2 separate regions of the Homo sapiens genome follow, and region 2 is linked to region 1. Evidence: promoter capture Hi-C in 16 types of primary human blood cells and fetal thymus (Javierre and others, 2016). All regions are on one chromosome and are shown on one strand. Each heading gives the region's core, a stretch centred on a gene start or on the middle of the fragment in contact. The rest is flanking DNA. Distances are from core to core; before and after follow the strand shown.

Evidence for each region. The method cuts DNA at HindIII sites, captures the fragments that hold promoters and counts their contacts. A CHiCAGO score of 5 or more calls a contact.
Region 2: a contact is called between a fragment that was not itself captured here and the fragment with the promoter of CTRB1 in region 1, in 1 of 17 cell types (total B cells). The highest score is 5.5, in total B cells.

The regions. Positions count from the first base shown.
Region 1 is chr16:75,217,631-75,221,561 of GRCh38, reverse strand. CTRB1 (chymotrypsinogen B1) reads right to left here and starts at 2,574. Exons shown (of 7, transcript NM_001906.6): 1 at 2,503-2,574. The coding sequence starts at 2,554. RefSeq lists an enhancer at 2,957-3,036. The HindIII fragment of the contact is 15,887 bases long and covers 1-3,931 here.
Region 2 is chr16:75,767,886-75,771,803 of GRCh38, reverse strand. The region is part of intron 2 of LOC105371348 (a long non-coding RNA gene); the gene reads right to left. Among named protein-coding and RNA genes, the nearest start is that of CPHXL, 43 kb to the right of the region's middle. The HindIII fragment of the contact is 1,805 bases long and covers 893-2,697 here.

The DNA.
Region 1 (3,931 bases), core at 1,325-3,824:
ATAGTAAAACCCCATCTCTACTAAAAATACAAAAATTAGCCGGGCATGGTGGCACAGGCCTACAATCCCAGCTACTTGGGAGGCTGAGGCAGGAGAATCGCTTGAACCTGGGGGACAGAGGTTGCAGTAAGCTGAGATCGTGCCACTGCACTCCAGCCTGGGTGACAGAGCCAAACTCCATCTCAAGAAAAAATCAAAACAAACACAGCTGGACTTTACTTCCACACCATAAAATGGCACATTGGAAGCAGAAAACAAAACAATGAAAATAGTCAGGTGTTCCACACACGCCCACCATGCCTCTGCTATGTCAGGACCAGATTCTCGACTCCTGTGCGCGGGCCAACCCAACAAACTGGGCTTTACATTTGAGCACACCCGCGTCCCTCAGACCAGCTGTCCCCTTCTGGGGTCATATTCGCCTGCTTACAAGGCAGCCCCTGCGTCTCCTGCCCACAGGAACACAGGCAGGCAAGGTGCCTCCCTGACGTTTCAGAGCATCAAAAACTGGTATTGTAATAGCAAAAAAATGAGAAAGAGCACGTTGGAAGGCCGAGGCAGGTGGATCACAAGGTCAGGAGTTCAAGACCAGCCTGGCCAATATGATGAAACCCTGTCTCTACTAAAAATACAAAAATTAGCTGGGGTGGTGGCTCATGCCTGTAGTTCCAGCTACTCAGGAGGCTGAGGCAGGAGAAATGCTTGAACCTGGGAGGTGGAGGTTGCAGTGAGCCGAAATCATGCCACTGCACTCCAGCCAGGGCGACAAGTGTGAAACTCCATCTAAAAAAATAAATAAATAAATAAGAGAACTAGATGGTGGCATACTCACACAACAGAGCACGCATTATAAAAATGCAGGTGAATGAGCTGAAACTCCACGTCAACATGCAGGAAGTGAGAAGATTTGAGTAGGGAAAAAGCACATTGTTGTAGAATGGAGGTAGAATGGAGTATTAGTTACATCAGCCAGGCACAGTGGCTCACACCTGTAATCCAGCACCCTGGGAGGTTGAGGTGAGCAGATCACTCGAGCACAGGATTTCGAGACCAGCCTGGACAACATAATAAGACCCCAGGTCGGGCATGGGGGCTCACGCCTGTAATCCCATCACTTTGGGAGGCTGAGGTGGGCGGATCACTGGAGGTTAGGAGTTCAAGACCAGCCTGACCAATATGGTGAAACCCCATCTCTATTAAAAATACAAAAATTAGCCAGGTGTGGTGATGCATGCCTGTAATCCCAGCTACTCAGTAGGCTGAGGCAGGAGAAATGCTTGAACCCAGGAGGCGGAGGTTGCAGTGAGCCAAGATCACGCCACTGCACTCCAGCCTGGGTGACAAGAGTGAAACTCTGTCTCAAAGAAAAGAAAAAAAAATAACAAAAAAAACCTCCATCTCTACAAAACAAAACAAGTTTTTAAACTTAGCGTGCCTGTAGCGCCAGCTACTCGGGAGGCTATAGTGGGAGGATCACTCGAGCCCTTGAGTTTGAGGCTGCAAACTCACACTACTGCACTCCAGCCTGGGTGACAGAGTGAGACCCTGTCTCAAAACCAAAACCAAAACCAAAACCAAAAACAGGATAGAATACCGTTCCATTGATGTAACCTTTTTGAAACCTTATGTATAGATGTATAAAAATATGTAGTACAATTGTATAAGCTCACACTGCAATTATTCATAGAAAGTTCAGAATCAAGCTCACATTCCAGAGAGGGAAGGAGGGAGAAAAGGGAAGCCTGAGTACAATCTGTTTTAGAAATATCTGAAGCAAATGTGCAAAAAGATTTGCTGAATTCTGACAGTAGATACAAGGATGTCATATTCTTTTCTGTATTTTCTTTTACTATTTCTCTTTTAAAAAATAGAAAACACGGCTGGGCACAGTAGCTCATGCCTGTAATCCCAGCACTTTGGGAGGCCGAGGCGGGGGCATCACCTGAGGTCAGGAGTTCAAGACCAGCCTGGCCAACGTGGTGAAAGCCCGTCTCTACTAAAAATTAGCCAGGGTTGGTGGTCCATGCCTGTAGTCCCAGCTGCTCGGGAAGCTGAGGCAGGAAGATCATTTGAACCCAGGAGATGGAGGTTGCAGTAAGTGGAGATTGCACCATTGCACTCCAGCCTCGGCAATAGGAGTGAAATTCTGTCTCGAAAAAAAAAAAAGAAAGAAAGGAAGAAAATGCTTGACAAGTACCCAGCACAATAAAAACCCCGGTGGAGGCCTTGGGAGGTCTCCTGGGGCCACACCTTACCCTGCACAAGGCACCCCCACCCCAGCCACTTCTGGAGCCTCAGACCATGGCAGAGACCAGCATCGTCCTTCCCACTCCTGGAGCAGGTTGTGTGGGCTCAGAAAGCCCCAGAATGCACCCTCTCCTGAGCCCTCAGGTTACCTGTGCTGGGGATGAGGCCCCAGGGGGCAGAGCAGGGGACTCAGATCCCCCTCTCAGCCAGGCTCAGGGCTCCCTCAGGACAGACCCCTCGGGCACCAGCACTCACCAAAGGCGGCCCCCACAAGGGAGAAGCAGGAGAGGAGCCAGAGGGAAGCCATGCCGCTGCCTCAGAAGGTGTGGGGCCTGCCAGCTGCGGGGCCCCTTTTACCACCTTGGGGGGGCAGGGAGCCCAGCCCCCCCCGCTCCCCCAGCCAGGGAGGCCTGAGCCCACCCTCCCTGTTACCCAGGGACCTTGGGCAATAAGTGGAGACAGAGCCCCGCCTGGCTCTCTACCAGACAACCCCAGTCCCTGGGAAAGGGGCAGCTGCGCTGACATCACCGGTCAGCCTTGGGGACATGATCCCACAGAGCCAGCTGTGAGCTGCAGTATCCCTGCCAGGAGACGGCACCAGGCTCTTCTGTTCCCAGAGGGGAAGTGGAGGCAGTTCCACCCCAGGGCTCGTGGAGGACCAGCTGCTGTCATGGAACCAGGTCTCCGGGAACTCAGGCTCTCAGTGAAGGGTGTTTCCGCCTAACACTGTCCTAGAAGCAAAGGGTGACTCAGGGCATCGTGGATTCTCCAGAGTGTCACTGCAAGTCACCAGTGAAGCCAAGCCACTTCTGACTGTGGCGAGGGTCTGGGTGACAAGGACCAACCCGCTGGTGGCCGTAACAGGTGGGCAAAGCCACTGACACGCGTCCCACCTGTGCTGTAGAACCCAACAGAATTCACTTTTTCTGCAATGACTCATGATATAAGGAACTAATCATTTCATAAAGTTTCAGTTTCTTACAAAATGGAACTTGGATTCCGCACCATAAAATGACACAGAAAACAAACTTTTTAAGATGGAGTCTCACTCTGTCACCCAGGCCGGAGTGCAGTGGCGCAATTTCAGCTCACTGCAGCCTCCTCTTCCCGGGTTCAACTGATTCTCCTGCCTCAGCCTCCCAAGTAGCTGGGATTACAGGTGCCCACCACACCCAGCTATTTTTTTTTTTTTTTGAGATGGGGTCTTGCTCTGCTGCCTAGGCTGGAGTGCAGTGGCACAATCTTGGCTCACTGCAGCCTCCACCTCCCAGGTTCAAGCAATTCTCCCACCTCAGCCTCTTGAGTAGCTGGGATTACAGGCATAGCACCAAACCTGGCTAATTTTTATATTTTTAGTAGAGACGGGGTTTCACCATGTTGGCCAGGCTGGTCCCAAACTCCTGATCTCGGGTGATCCACCTTCCTCGGCCTCCCAAAGTGCTGGGATTACAGGCGTTAGCCACCGCACTTGGCCAATTGTTGTATTTTTAGTAGAGACAGGGTTTTACCACGTTGGCCAGGCTCCTCTTGAGCTCCCGGCCTCAGGTGATCCTGTGGCCTTGGCCTCCTAAAGTGCTGAAATTACAGGCGTGAGTCACTGCGCCTGTCTGAAAATAAATTTTGAGGAAGCAGAAAAACTTTTTTCATTGTCACAAAACAAGGAGGAAAGACAGGTGTGGGTGAC
Region 2 (3,918 bases), core at 546-3,045, 550 kb before region 1:
TTTTATTTAGTGTAAGATTTCTTTCTACATATTCCCATTAATGCTCCCATTCACTCTCCATTTCCTGATCAGCACCTTTTTTTAACCACTGGATAGTTTATGTAAGTAAGACAGTGTTCTACACTCTACAAAAATAAAGTTAATTGAAACTTTGTATATTTTAAACTTGTTTTACTTCCTTTGGAATCTAATACATAACCCATATTCTGGAGGATAATGAATCAATTTATTTTGATTTGGTTCTCTGGTTGCAGTAATAATGTAAATTCAGGGGGGAAATGTAAATAAAAATTGAAAGCAACAAAAACAAATTTTCTGAATTATAGTAAAAATGCAGAATTAAATATGTCTTAAATGTTTAAACATCTTAGTGTATCTCAGTTGGAAGAAAAACAACCTCTGTGAGAACAGAAAGAAGATGACTAAAGAGCAGTGTGGTCTGAGAAGGATTCTAAGGTTGTTTTTTATCTTTAAAAAGAGGGGTTGGCAAAATATGATCCTTGGGCCAAATCCAGTCTGTGACTTTTCTATACATAATGTTTTATTGAAACACAGCCATTTATTTATATACTTACAATGGCTATTTTTGTACTACAATGGCAGTGTTGAGTAGCTGTGACAAACACAATCTGAAGCACAATACCTAAAGCATTTACAATTGGTACCTTTCTAGGAAAGATTTGCAGACCCCTGCTGAAGAAAATCTTGATGGTGGTAACATCAGCAAAAATGGCAGAGCAGGGACCCTCAAAAATTCACCCTTCCATAAAAGCAATGAAAAAATTATTTAAATGGTCAGAATTACCTTTTTCAGATCTCCAGAAATGAATCAAAAGATTTTGTGTGACTGAAGTGGATGTAGAAATTTAAAAAAAAAAAAGAATTAAAAGCTTCCCATGACCTGGGGAGAGTTTACTCAAGAAAAATGGCTGGATGGCTGTAAGAAAAGTTAGCTTTGTGACATTTTAACTTTCCCTGGTCCCACCCCCCACTCTCTAGCTCAGAAAAAGCCTTGAAAAATACTCATCTGCATTGCTGGTGCTGCCTAGCAGTCATCAGTGGGACCAGAATAGAGATGAAGCTCTTTCAAAGTATAATTCCCAAAATATTATCTCTTTTTTTTTTTTATTGAGACACAGTCTTGCTCTGTCGCCCAGGCTGGAGTGCAGTGGCACGATCTTGGCTCACTGCAAGGTCTGCCTCCCAGGTTCACGCCATTCTCCTGCCTCAGCCTCCCGAGCAACTGGGACTACAGATGCCTGCCAGCACACCCAGCCAGCTTTTTGTACCTTTAGTAGAGACAGGGTTTCACCATGTTAGCCAGGATGGTCTCGATCCCCTGACCTCGTGATCCACCTGCCTTGGCCTCCCAAAGTGCTGGGACCACAGGCATGAGCCACTGCACCCAGCCAATATTATCATTTCTTATTTGTCTGGTGGTTCTCTTGAAAAACTCATTAAGAGGCTGCCTTGGAGCTCACTCACTTCAGAGGATTTCTGTCAGGTGATGTTATTTTTGGAGACAATTACAGGCAAGTGTTTTAACTTTGTGGCTGCCTGAGGAGATTAACAACAGCTGAGGCAAACAAAGGACTAACCAAAAACCTTGAAAATAAAATAGAAGTTTGAAAATAAGATGTCTAGAAGGACATCAGAAGGCTCTGACAAAATCTCAGGGATCTAAATGACCATGTGTACTCCCAGGATAGTACACAAGCTCAGGGAAGACCTGGAAAGGCCCTCAGCTCTCATCTCTGCTTACCTTGAGGATCTATGTAGGCAGTAAGAAAAGGCTTAGATGGAGTTACAAGCTGCCTAAGTTTTGAGGACATGACCCAACATGCACAGAGAGCCCTTCAGCAAATGAAAGATTTATTGATTCCAGACCTCTAAGGAAACCTGTCTAATTACTAGCTAACCACTAAGCTAACTGAGTAGTGGCATCAATGCCCATACATGACAAAGAATACAAACTTTACTGAATTGCCTTAGAAATGTAAGTAAGAGCCGGGCGCGGTGGCTCATGCCTGTAATCCCAGCACTTTGGGAGGCCGAGGTGGGTGGATCACAATGTCATGAGATCGAGACCTTCCTGGCTAACATGGTGAAACCCTGTCTCTACTAAAAATACAAAAAAATTAGCTGGGCATGGTGGTGGGCACCTGTAGTCCCAGCTACTCAGGAGGCTGAGGCAGGAGAATGGCGTGAACCCGGGAGGCGGAGCTTGCAGTGAGCCAAGATCGCACCACCGCACTCCAGCCTGGGCAACAGAGCAAGACTCTGTCTCAAAAAAAAAAGAAACGTAAGTACGCAAACAGGTAACAATAACCAATAAGCAACAATAAAAACAAGCCATGGACATGTAGGAAAATCTGATTTCCAAACTTGCCACATAATACCTATTAAAATGTCCAGGTTTCAATAATGTAAAAAATTATAAGTCATGCAAAGAAATAAAGTACTGCCAACACACATACATAAAAATAAACAATCAATAGAATTTGTCCTAAAGGAAGCCCAGATATTGGACTTACTAGAAAAGACTTTAAATCATTTAGTCTAAATATGCCCAAAGACCAAAAGGAGAGTGTGCCTAAAGAAGTATGAGAACAATGTCTAACCAAACAGAAAACATCAATAAAGAGATGGAAATTATAAAATTCAACTTTAAAATAAAAGTTATAAAATTGAAAAGCTTAATAACAGAAAAGAAAAATTCACTACAGGTTCTCAGTAACAGATATGAAAAGACATAAAAAATCAACAAATTTCAAAATTGGTCAATTGAAATTATCCAGTCTGAGGAACAGAAAAGAAAAAGAACAAAGAAAAATGAACAGAGTTTCAGAGACCTGTGGGAAATTACTGAAAGTACCAATATATATGTAATGGGAGACCCAGAAGGAGAGGAGAGAAATGTCAAGAACCAATATTTGAAGAAATAATGCTTGTAAACTTCCCAAATTTGTTGAAAAATATTGGTTTGCACACATGAACTTCAAGTGTAATAAACTAAAAAGATTCATACCTCAATACAACATAATCAACCTCTTAAAGAATGAAGATGAAAAAACTTGGTATCAGCAAGTAAGACATGATTCATATACAATGGCTTCTCAGTAATATTAATAGCTGTTTCCCATTAGAAATCAAGGAAAAGAGAACATAAGACAATAGGATGACATATTCAAAGCAGTGAAAGTAAAAGACTGTCAATCAAGGAGTCTATATAGAGCAATACTATACTCCAAAATTGAAGGGGAAATTAAGACATCTCCAGATTTTTTTTAAAAAACCAAGAGAATTCATTGCTAGCACAGCTGTCCTGCAAGAAATACTAAAGGAGTTCTTTTAGGCCTAGATGAAAGTTATTTGGCAGTAATTCAAACCCAAATGAAGAAATAAAGAGTACTGGTAAATGTTAACTATATGGTTAAATATAAAAGACAGCATAAATGATTTTTGTTTATAGTTATTTTCTTTTCTTCTATCTGATTTAAAAGACAACTACATAAACCAGTAATTATAAGTCTATGTTGATGGGTACACAAGCAATAAAGATCTAATTTGTAAAAATAACAGCATAAAGAAGGCAGGTAGGCTGGGCATGGTAGCTCATGCCTGTAATCTCAGCACTTTGGGAGACTGAAGCAGGAGGATCACTTGAGCCCAGGAATTCAAGACCAGCCTGGGCAATACAGCAAGACCCCATCTCTTAAAAACATATATAAGAATAAATTGTAAAAAGAAAAGGAAGAAAACAGAGTTACATTGGAGCAAACTTTTGTATACTACTAAAATTAAGTTGGTATTATATTGACTAGATTGTTATAAATTAAAATATTGGGCTGGGCATGGTGGCTCATCCCTGTAATCCCAGCACTTTGGGAGGCCGAGGCAGGAGGGTCACTTGAGGCA